3 separate regions of the Homo sapiens genome follow, and regions 1 and 2 are each linked to region 3. Evidence: promoter capture Hi-C in 16 types of primary human blood cells and fetal thymus (Javierre and others, 2016). All regions are on one chromosome and are shown on one strand. Each heading gives the region's core, a stretch centred on a gene start or on the middle of the fragment in contact. The rest is flanking DNA. Distances are from core to core; before and after follow the strand shown.

What was found. The method cuts DNA at HindIII sites, captures the fragments that hold promoters and counts their contacts. A CHiCAGO score of 5 or more calls a contact.
Region 1: a contact is called between a fragment that was not itself captured here and the fragment with the promoter of DVL2 in region 3, in 10 of 17 cell types (total B cells, naive B cells, non-activated CD4 T cells and 7 more). The highest score is 8.1, in total B cells.
Region 2: the fragment with the promoter of TNFSF13 here is called in contact with the fragment with the promoter of DVL2 in region 3 in 6 of 17 cell types (naive B cells, fetal thymus, non-activated CD4 T cells and 3 more); the score reaches 6.4 in naive B cells.

Annotation. Positions count from the first base shown.
Region 1 is chr17:7,592,878-7,596,309 of GRCh38, reverse strand. It overlaps FXR2 (FMR1 autosomal homolog 2), which reads left to right. Exons shown (of 17, transcript NM_004860.4): 8 at 316-486; 9 at 1,553-1,631; 10 at 1,963-2,072; 11 at 2,306-2,392; 12 at 2,685-2,907; 13 at 3,129-3,326; 14 at 3,416-3,432. Among named protein-coding and RNA genes, the nearest start is that of SOX15, 4.5 kb to the right of the region's middle. The HindIII fragment of the contact is 5,554 bases long and covers 1-3,432 here.
Region 2 is chr17:7,557,500-7,561,000 of GRCh38, reverse strand. It overlaps TNFSF13 (TNF superfamily member 13), which reads right to left and starts at 2,251. Exons shown (of 6, transcript NM_003808.4): 1 at 1,704-2,251; 2 at 1,299-1,377; 3 at 1,108-1,155; 4 at 834-952; 5 at 513-651; 6 at 1-277. The coding sequence starts at 1,961. The coding sequence ends at 168. It overlaps TNFSF12-TNFSF13 (TNFSF12-TNFSF13 readthrough), which reads right to left. Exons shown (of 11, transcript NM_172089.4): 7 at 1,299-1,377; 8 at 1,108-1,155; 9 at 834-952; 10 at 513-651; 11 at 1-277. The coding sequence ends at 168. It overlaps TNFSF12 (TNF superfamily member 12), which reads right to left. Exons shown (of 7, transcript NM_003809.3): 7 at 3,120-3,501. RefSeq lists enhancers at 2,203-2,252, 3,063-3,122, 2,708-3,501. The HindIII fragment of the contact is 8,242 bases long and covers 1-3,501 here.
Region 3 is chr17:7,232,546-7,235,846 of GRCh38, reverse strand. DVL2 (dishevelled segment polarity protein 2) reads left to right here and starts at 1,330. Exons shown (of 15, transcript NM_004422.3): 1 at 1,330-1,778. The coding sequence starts at 1,585. PHF23 (PHD finger protein 23) reads left to right here. Exons shown (of 5, transcript NM_024297.3): 5 at 7-809. The coding sequence ends at 221. RefSeq lists an enhancer at 1,133-1,182 and a silencer at 1,293-1,592. The HindIII fragment of the contact is 14,867 bases long and covers 1-3,301 here.

The DNA of each region.
Region 1 (3,432 bases), core at 378-2,877, 360 kb before region 3:
GGTGGACACCTGTAGTCGTAGCTACTCAGGAGGCCGAGGCATGAGAATCACTTGAAGTCGAGAGGCGGAGGTTGCAGTGAGCTGAGATCGCGCCACTGCACTCCAGCCTGGGCGACAGAGCGAGACGCCATCTCAAAGAAAAAACAAAAAGTTCCTGACCTTTCCACACAGGTCCTCGTGGTCCGCGGACTCCAGAGTGGTTCTAGCTTTCTATTAATATCACACAGTTTTCCTTATTTAAGTTATGCAAAGGGTCGTGTGCCTGGGACTGTGAGATTCTACCACCATGATTCCTACAGTGACTTTTCCTTTCAGACAAGCAAGCAGTTGGCAGCAGCCTTCCAAGAGGAGTTCACAGTGCGAGAGGACCTGATGGGACTGGCAATTGGGACTCACGGTGCCAACATCCAGCAGGCCCGAAAAGTACCTGGGGTGACCGCCATTGAGTTGGGTGAAGAGACCTGCACTTTCCGCATCTATGGGGAGGTCAGCAAAGGATGTCTTTCTTCTGGGTCTCTTAGGGGATAGAGGGAAGAGAGGCCGAAGTAGAAAATAAGCCTCAAACTGGGCACAGTGGCTCACACCTGTAATCCCAGCACCTTCGGAGGTCAAAGTGAGAGGATCACTTGAGCCTAGGAGTTTGAGACCAGCCTGTGCAACATAGTGAGACCCAATCTCTACAAAAATTTAAAAATTAGCTGGAAGTAGTGGTGCGTACCTGTAGTCGCAGGTACTTGGGAGGCTGAAATGGGAAGATAGAGGGGAGGATCACTTGAGCCTGGGAGTTGGAGAACAACCTGGACAACATAGAGAGACCCTGTCTTTACCCCCCAAAAAAACCAAAAACCAAAAAACGTTAACTGAGCGTGGTGGCATGCATCTGTGGCCCCAGCTACTTGGCTACTTGGGAGGCGGAGGCAGGAGGATCACTTGAGCCTGGAAAGTCAAGGCTGCAGTACACCATGATGGTGCCACTGAACCAACCTGGGCAACATAGTCAATAGAGTGAGACCAAAAAATCAAAAAAATAGACCAGATCTCTGTTGCCCAAGCTGGTTGTTAACTCCTAGCCTCAAGCAATCCTCCCTTCTTAGCCTCCGAAACTGTTGAGATTATGGGTGTGAGCCGCTGTGCCTGGCCAAGGTCCTCTGTTTTTTTTTTTAAGTTATTTATTTGTTTAATTTTTTTTTTTTATGAGATGGAGTCTAACTCACTCTGTTGCCCGGGCTAGAGTGCAGTGGCACAATCTCAGCTTATTGCAACCTCTGCCTCCTGGGTTCAAGAAATCTCCTGCCTCAGCCTCCGGAGTAGCTGGGATTAGAGACGTGAGCCACCAATTTTGTATTTTTAGTATTTTAGTATTTTTGTATTTTGATTTTTGTATTTTTAGTAGAGATGGCGTTTCACCATATTGCCCAGGCTAGTCTTGAACTCTTGAGCTCAATTTATCCACCTGCCTCCAGCCTCCCAAAGTGCTGGGATTACAGGCGTGAGCCACCACATCCAGCTGGTCTTCTGTTTTAGTAACAACTCCCTGCTGTTCTTCCTTTAGACTCCCGAGGCTTGCCGACAGGCCCGAAGCTACCTTGAGTTTTCTGAGGACTCAGTGCAAGTGCCCAGGAACCTGGTTGGTGAGTTGGTGGTGTGTATATACAGTTAGAGGTCAGAATCAAGATTCTCTACAGTGATTCTGAGCTTTTATCCAGGATTGGCACCTCCCTGTGGACTCCCAGTTTCACAAGGACAGAGAAACAGTCTGTAATGGGAGTGATAAAAATGAAAGAATAAATTTCTAGGGATTGTAACATTTTGTCCTGTAAAAACACATCAGAAACCTAGAAGCAGGAGAATGAAGTAAATGGAATCCATATAAAGAAAATGAGGCTGGAAGACGGTGTATCAGCTTTATTCTTATTTCCTTAAAAAAAATAAAAGGCTGAATTCCTCATTTACCTATTCCAGGCAAAGTGATTGGAAAGAACGGGAAAGTGATCCAGGAGATTGTGGATAAATCTGGTGTGGTGAGGGTTCGAGTGGAAGGTGATAATGACAAGAAGAACCCCAGGGAGGAGGTATGGGTACGGGGCAAGTGGGCATAGAGATTGGTTTCCAGAAGTAAATGGGATTGTCCTCTGAGGGCTGGGATTGTTCTTTGAGAGGGTGGAGTACGGAAAGTTGTTTAACACTAGTAGATTTAGAGCCCAGAATGATCCCACTGGGCAGGCTCCCCTAGGAGACTGGGCGGCGTTAATCCTTCCATTTCATTTTCCTTTCTGATCCATCGTTTCTGCTCTCTGTTCTCTAGGGAATGGTTCCCTTCATTTTTGTTGGCACCCGAGAGAACATCAGCAATGCCCAGGCTTTGCTGGAGTATCACCTCTCCTACCTGCAGGTACCCAGGCCGGGAGAGAAAAATGCTGGGTGTGAAAAGGGAACTAAGACTGCTGTGGGGGTCAGCTCAGGGATTTTGGTTCTCTGTTTGTCTCTCCGTGTAGAACAGAAAACATCTGTGGAAATTTGGGGCTATAGGGTTGGGTCCCAGAATTTTCCTTGTTTAGCCAGTGTCTTCCTTCTCCCTGCATTCCTGAGAGGTTAGATATAGAGGGACAGTCAGGGTGCAGAAGCATGAAGCAAGGCACTGATCTTATTTCTCCTTCCCCTTCTTCCATCTTTTACCCAACCAGGAGGTAGAGCAGCTTCGCTTGGAGAGGCTACAAATTGATGAGCAGCTTCGGCAGATTGGGCTGGGCTTTCGCCCTCCTGGGAGTGGGCGGGGCAGCGGTGGCAGCGACAAGGCTGGATATAGCACTGATGAGAGCTCCTCCTCCTCCCTCCATGCGACTCGAACCTATGGGGGCAGCTATGGGGGCCGTGGCCGTGGCCGGAGGACAGGCGGTCCTGCCTATGGTGAGACAGTTATGGGAACAGGAGGCAAGGAGTGGCAGGGCTTGTGGGTAGAGGCAGAGGTCTGGATGGAAGTTTGGGGAAATCTGGAATGGAGATGATGAAAAAGTGATTGATTGGCTGGGAGGCTTGTGAGTGAGAAGGAGAATTCTTCCAGTTTGGGGGATGTGATGGATCCTGAGGTGGGATGAATGGCCGTGAATAAATCCCATTGTGTTCTTCAGGCCCCAGCTCAGATGTGTCTACAGCTTCAGAGACTGAGTCAGAGAAGAGAGAGGAGCCCAACCGAGCTGGGCCTGGCGACAGGGATCCCCCAACCCGAGGGGAAGAAAGCCGGAGGCGGCCGACTGGGGGCCGGGGTAGGGGACCCCCACCTGCCCCCCGGCCCACTTCGAGATACAATTCTTCATCTATTAGCTCAGGTACCAGACAGCTGGGTTCATGAATATGGGCCAAAAGGAAAGATGATGGGCACCTGACTGCCAACTCCTCCTCTTCTTCCTCTGACCAGTGCTGAAGGATCCAGAC
Region 2 (3,501 bases), core at 1,002-3,501, 320 kb before region 3:
GTCTAGGGGGTGGGAATGAAAAGGGAAAAGTGAGGAACGGGGAGCCAAACCCAGGAAGACGCCTCTGTTCCTGCACATTCCCTCTCCTTTATATACTCAGCTCTTGGCTGTCTCCAGTATGTACCCACCCTGGTCTTCCAAGCTGGGAGCCACTTTTTATAACACAATCACAGTTTCACAAACCCCAGGAAGGTTCCATGTGGAGAGAGGTTAAGTTTCGCCCTTGCCCGGGGAATTATGACACTCAGAATATCCCCTTGGTGTAAATGGAAGACACCTGAGAAAAGAGAGAAAGTAGATTCGCAGTGAAGCACAGCCATCCAGATGCCCTGTTTCCCCCTGCCTTCTCCAGCTCCACCGTTCCTCTGCCTCCTGTAAGGACCCGGCATTCTGCACTTCACTCCTCAGACCCGCCTCTGTTTAGGTTTCCAACCTCCCTCCTAGCGGTAGCTCCCTGCACTGCTACCCCCGGTCAGAGACGTCCTGCTTTCGGCTGCCCACACGGCTCTCACCTGCGCTATAGCAGCTGTTGTAGGCCCGGTCCGGGTGGGAGGGCATACTTCTTATACATCGGAATAGAGTCTCCTGCCTTCCTTGGCCTTCTCGAGACACCACCTGACCCATGGTGAAAGTCACGTCTTGAAACAGGACCTGGCAGGGAAGGGAGATGTTGAAGAAAACAGGATGGCCTGGCTCAGTTCTGGGAGGCCTCAGGAGCGCTAACGAGGGAAGAAAGAAGGGTCTGCTGGGTTTGGTATGAATAGAGGGGTCAGGAACCCTCAGTAGGGGGCCAAAGAGGCCCTCTGTGAAGCTCAGAGTGTGGCTGGGGTTACCTGGCTATACAGCAGATAAACTCCAGCATCCTGGATTCGGACACCATATCCTTGGGCCTGTAGGCCTCTCCCACGCCTAAGAGCTGGTTGCCACATCACCTCTGTCACATCGGAGTCATCTGGAGGTGAGAGTGTGTCGGTCAGGACTTCTTGGCACTCTCAGGTGCTTTTTGGTTCTTTCCCTTTCACCTATAAGGACCCCTTGAGCCCAAGTGCCAGCCCGAGTTCCTGGTTATTGCCCCTCCCCAAAGCCATTATTTAAAATAGTGCTCACCCTTGGAGGTGGCGTTAATGGGAACCAGGTGCAGGACAGAGTGCTGCTCTGAGGAGAGAAGGAGGGAATCTCAGCCGCATCCACTTTCCCCCGTTGTGCTGTTGGCAGCCTCCACCCTCACCCTGACTCGGGCTTACAATCCCCACGCTGCTTGATCACCTCCCACCCCTGCTGCACCCTGGAAGCCTCACTCTTCTGTTTTTGGGTGAGCACTGCTCTCCTTTTCCGGGATCTCTCCCCATTCTCCCAGGCTTCCAGGGCATCGGAACTCTGCTCATGGAAAGAGGGTCAAGGTTAGGTTAAGATGCGAGGGTCCCAGCCAGCCTGCCTTCCCAGCCCTCCCCTGCCCCCGAGATGCCTCAGATCTCTCACGCACCTTTTCCCAGCACCCTGAGTGTTGGTGCTGGCTGCCCTCCAGGATTTGTTAGGTATGAGAAGCATTAACCTTTAACAGTTTCCTTTCCTGGAATGGCCGCGCCCCTGACTTCCAAACCGGAGACCCTCTCTTGCACCCCCTTGAAACTTTGCAGACCAGGAGGCCCAGAGACCCCCCATGCTAACCATCCTCTCCCAGACACCCTCCTCCCCTCACTCACCTGCTCCGGGAGACTCTGCCAGGGATACCCTTCCCCATTCTGGGAGGGGCCTCCTGTCCCCTGCAGCCGGCTCACCTCTCTCCTGAGGCTCTGCAGCTCTGTTTGTTGGGTCAGCAGAGCCATGGCACAAGCCACGGCCCCCAGAGCTGCCCCCCAACTCAACCAGAGGGCAACTGAGAGTGCCGGCTCTCTGACTGGGCCCCCCATGTTGCCTGGAGGCCCTTTGGGGGCTAGCAAGAAAGGAGATGAGGCTGGCATGAGCTGGGGACCCTGCCAACAGCTGTGGTTTCAAGAGTGGGGTAGCAAGGAGGTGGCGGGGCGGGTAAGGGTACGGGCAGTGGTGCAGAAGGGAAGAAGGTTGTTACGCAAGGAGAAATAAAAAGGAACTTGAAAATAAAAAGGAGGGAGGAGGAAAGCAAGCTAAGGGTACTGTTAGTGCTCCTGGCACTCCGTCGTGGGGCCAGCGTTGCCTTGAGACCCTCCACCCTCCCTCAGCCTCAGGAGAATTAGGTTCCAGTCCCTCTAGGAAGGACAGGGCTGCCAGTGACACCCAGGAGGAACAGGCAGTGCGCAGGAACCCTGGGGCGGCCCCAGGGTTGGGGGAGGGAAGGTTGGCTGGCTAGAGGGCATTGTGCCAGGAGCAGGATGGGGGGCCAAGCTGGGCAGTGTCCAGGGTCAGGGCGAGGGTGGAAGACCCTCGGGGTCAAGCACAGCAGAGATCGCTGGGGCAGTTCACTAGGGGTGACTGAAGGTGGGAAAGGAGGGGTGGGCTCGATGGGGAGGAGAACCAGGGGCACGGAAGCAAGAAACTGGCTGAGTTCTGGGGTTAAGGCTGGGCCGGGTGTGTTGGAATAAGGCCTGCACTACTCCCTGTGCTGAAATTGGCAAGCAGGACTTCCTGTTTCCCGAGAAAAGCTCTTACATAAGGCTCTGGACGAAGAGACAAAGCAGCGGCCTCAAGCCCCCCGGCCACTGCGGGATTCCTCCCCAGCACACAGGGTTCCGGGTTCCCGTGTGCCTGCTGACTCTCAGCCCCTCCTCCAGGCTGGCTCCTGCCCGCCCCACCTCCCAGCCAGGGCCTGTGCCAGCACCTGCTGAATGTCCGAGGCCACCAAGAGGAAGGGCCCCTGCTCCTCCCAGCCAGGAAGGGATTTCCCCGCAGGAGGAAGTCTGCCTCCTAGGCCAAGGAGGCCGCTTCTGCTGTACCTTGGGCGGAGGATTGATTTTTTTCCTGGGCAGTGTGCCTTCCTACCTCTGCTCCCACCTGGGGGCTGGAGGCATGGAGGTCCCCGCCCCCAAGCCTGAACATCATCCCGGAGTTCCAGCTGTGCCGCTCCGCAACGCCCCCCTTCACGTGGCCCCCAGCTACCCTGAGAGTGTCCCCTGAGCCCCAATAAAGAGAGAGACTATGACTTATTCTATTTAATATCCATTTATCAACATTTTGTCACAATAATAATAAAAATAATATCTGTTTTAAAAATCCACAGGGAATTCTCAAGGGAGGAGCTTGTCTTGTTTCTCGCCCCTCACATTTGGGAACTCCTGGCCTAGGCCCAGTCTCTTTGGCTTCCTGCCGCCAGGTCCAGCCCCTCTTAGTGCCTGAAGTGGGGTCTTCTGGACCCATCCTTGCCCACAGAGTACAGTGAACACAATGCCCTGGGGGTCTGTGGCCAGGGGGGAGTCGAGATCACTGGGGGCCTCAAAGGGTCAGGGATTGGGGAGCTAGTGAGGTGGAGAGTGGGCGGTGGGGGAGTTGTAAGATAAGAGTGGGAATACTGTATTTATGTGGGATGGA
Region 3 (3,301 bases), core at 81-2,580:
CCCCAGGTGATGACTCATGGGATCTGATCACATGTTACTGTCGAAAGCCCTTTGCAGGGCGGCCCATGATTGAGTGCAGCCTGTGTGGGACGTGGATCCACCTCTCCTGTGCTAAGATTAAGAAGACCAACGTCCCCGACTTCTTTTATTGCCAGAAATGCAAGGAACTGAGGCCAGAGGCCCGGCGGTTAGGGGGGCCTCCCAAATCTGGAGAGCCCTGATGGCACCAACTTTAGCCTGGAACTTCCAAATGACAACATGATTTGGGAACTGAGCCTCAGGGTCCTCAGCCTATCCCCTGGAGCTTGGATACTGTCTGCACTTCAAGGCAGGAATTCTCAAGGGAGACTTGTTTGAAAATGAGTGTCTCACTTTCCCACCCTATCCTTCCTCCCCACTCTGTGGACTTGAAATTGAATCCATTACGGTTGGGGATGGGAGGCTGTCTGTGTCCCGACACATAATCTCTGTCTCTTGGACCTGCCACCATCACTTTCTGGGTCAGGATTGGAATTGGGATGGAATGGGACAGTTGTCTATAAAACTCTAGTGTAAATATTAGCACTCCCCTCCCTCATCTTTTCTTCTATTTCACTCCCCATTTATTTTCTTCTACACCGGTTGTATTTTTAATTTTGGACTTCCCCTATTGGGCATGGCAGCTCAAAGGTGGAGTACTAGAGCCTGGCCAAGTGAGGAAGGAAAGCAGAAAGGTGACGATTCTCACTCACCTCTTTTGTTTTTAATAATATCGGCCGCTGTTTGTACAGACAGCCTGCGTGTTGTAAATAAAGCAGAGTGGGCTCTTTTGTGTTTATAGCCCTCACTGTCCTGCTCGGGAGGGAGGCTTTGGTGGCTGAAGACTAGCTGGAGGTGGGGCTGAAACCCACGTCTCAAAGTCCAATCTGAAGATATCACAGCACTGGGCCTTTCCCACCCCAAGACAAGTAAGCCACCTTAGAGCTTTCATTGTATTTGGCCCTCCCCACTCGAGTCTAGGAACCCCCACAGTCCCCACCTTCACTCCCTGCACGCACACTCCTGCGGGTCAGAGTTGCTTCGTGCTCCATCGTGGGTGGGGTAAAGCGGGGTGGGAGCCGATGGTCCGTTTCCTGAAGGCACAGGCCAGCTTAGCCTGGGTGCTCAGAGGACCTCGGCTGGGGTACACGTTTGGGGGCTGGGAGACCGTTGCTGAAGGCAGCGATCATGTGGCGGGGGCACTAGGCGGAGTCAGACGGTCACGTGATTGGGAGGGGATCACGTGACGGAGGGCGGCTGAGGAGCGCGGGGTGGCTGCCTTTAAGTCACGTGACATGAGGAGAGGTGGGCGGGTACCTGGAGGAAGCTCGCGGCGTCGGTGGCGGTGGCGCGCGGCGGCCGCTGAGACCGGGGCTTTGAGTCGCACCCCGCGGCCCGCCCCCCGCCGCCACCCTCGCAGATCCGTGCTTTTTCCCCTTTGCTTCTCTCCCGTACTGGGTCAGTCCTGTCCGCGCTCGCGCGTCGGTTTGCGGGTGTGCGCAGGCGCGGCAGGGGCCATTAGCCCTTTGGGTGGGCGGTGGAGCCCGGGAGCGCGCGGGCGAGACCATGGCGGGTAGCAGCACTGGGGGCGGTGGGGTTGGGGAGACGAAGGTGATTTACCACCTGGATGAGGAAGAGACTCCCTACCTGGTGAAGATCCCTGTCCCCGCCGAGCGCATCACCCTCGGCGATTTCAAGAGCGTCCTGCAGCGGCCCGCGGGCGCCAAGTACTTTTTCAAGTCTATGGATCAGGATTTCGGGTGAGCGCAAGGCCTAGATAGGACCGGCGGGGGCTTTGCTAGAGTGGATTGGGCGACATGGAGGGGCACACGTCTACTTTGGGCCACACTGGGATTTTCTGGCCTATGGTGGAGCAGATTGTACTATGCTGAGGTAGGTTGACTATCCCAGGATGGACAAGGTTATGCTTGGATAGATTGAGGCACACGGACAGACTAGGATATCCTAAACCAGATTAGACAAGATTAGGCTTTACTGGAATAGGTGGGGGCATACTGGTTTATGTTGGAGTATTCTAGTCTGTACTGAGTAAATTGATCCATTGTCTGGTTGTTTAGTACGTTCTCAGGAGTCCTGTAACGCCTGTAATCCCAGCACTTTGGGAGGCTGAGGCGGGCGGATCACGAGGTCAGGAGATCGAGGCCATCCTGGCTAACACGGTGAAACCCCATCTCTACTAACTAAAAATACAAAAAATTAGCCGGGCGTGGGGGCACGCGCCTGTAGTCCCAGCTACTTGGGTGGCTGAAGCAGGGAGAATCTCTTGAACCTGGGAGGCGGAGGTTGCAGTGAGCCGAGATCGCGCCACTGCACTCCAGCCTGGGCGACAGTGCGAGACTCCGTCTCAGAAAAAAAACAAAAAACACTTGGGCCATTATGGACTCTACTGGGTTGTATTGGTTAATCCTGGTTTCTCTTGGGGCAAGACTTGGTTTTATTGGAGCACTCGGTATAGGGGCAGACAAGGCTGTTGGGGCCTGTGCTAGCACAGGCAGCCGTATTGGGATGTTCCAATCTAGACTGGTGCAGACAGCTGCGTGTGGGGGCATTGTAGGCTGTGCTAGAATAGATTGGGCTATCCTAGGGTAATTTGGGACATTCAGGGCTATCTTGGACTAGATTGGCGTGTAAATAATGCAGAGAAAGCCCTTTTGTGTTTATGGTCTTTGGGGCTGAGCCTTCTGGGTCCTCAACCTCTGCTTTTTTTTTTTTTTTTTTTTGAGACAGTCTCGCTCTGTCGCCCAGGCTGGAGTGCAGTGGCGCATTCTCAGCTCACTGCAAGCTCTGCCTCCCGGGTCCACGCCATTCTCCTGCCTCAGCCTCCCAAGTAGCTGGGACTACAGGCGTCCGCCACCACACCCGGCTAATTTTTTGTATTTTTTAGTAGAGACGGGGTTTCACCGTTTTAGCCAGACTGGTCTCTGACTTCTGACCTCGTGATTCGCCCGCCTCAGCCTCCCAAAGTGCTGGGATTACAGGCGTGAGCCACCGCGCCCGGCCCAACCTCTGCTTTTTTGAAGGCAGGCTGGATTAAGTTGGGATAGCATGGGTTTTAGAAGAACTGAACAAACTGGACTCTAGCTAGAAAGATTGTTTGACATGGGGATGCTGATACTATCTTGGGAGTTATCTTGGCTTTAAGGCAAGGTTTTTCTAGTTGTCAGCAATGTAATCTTGGACAATTTATTTAAATTTTGTGTCTTGATCTCATCTGTGACATGGAGAAAATCACAGAATGAAATGGTTAGTTCACGTGTGTGGC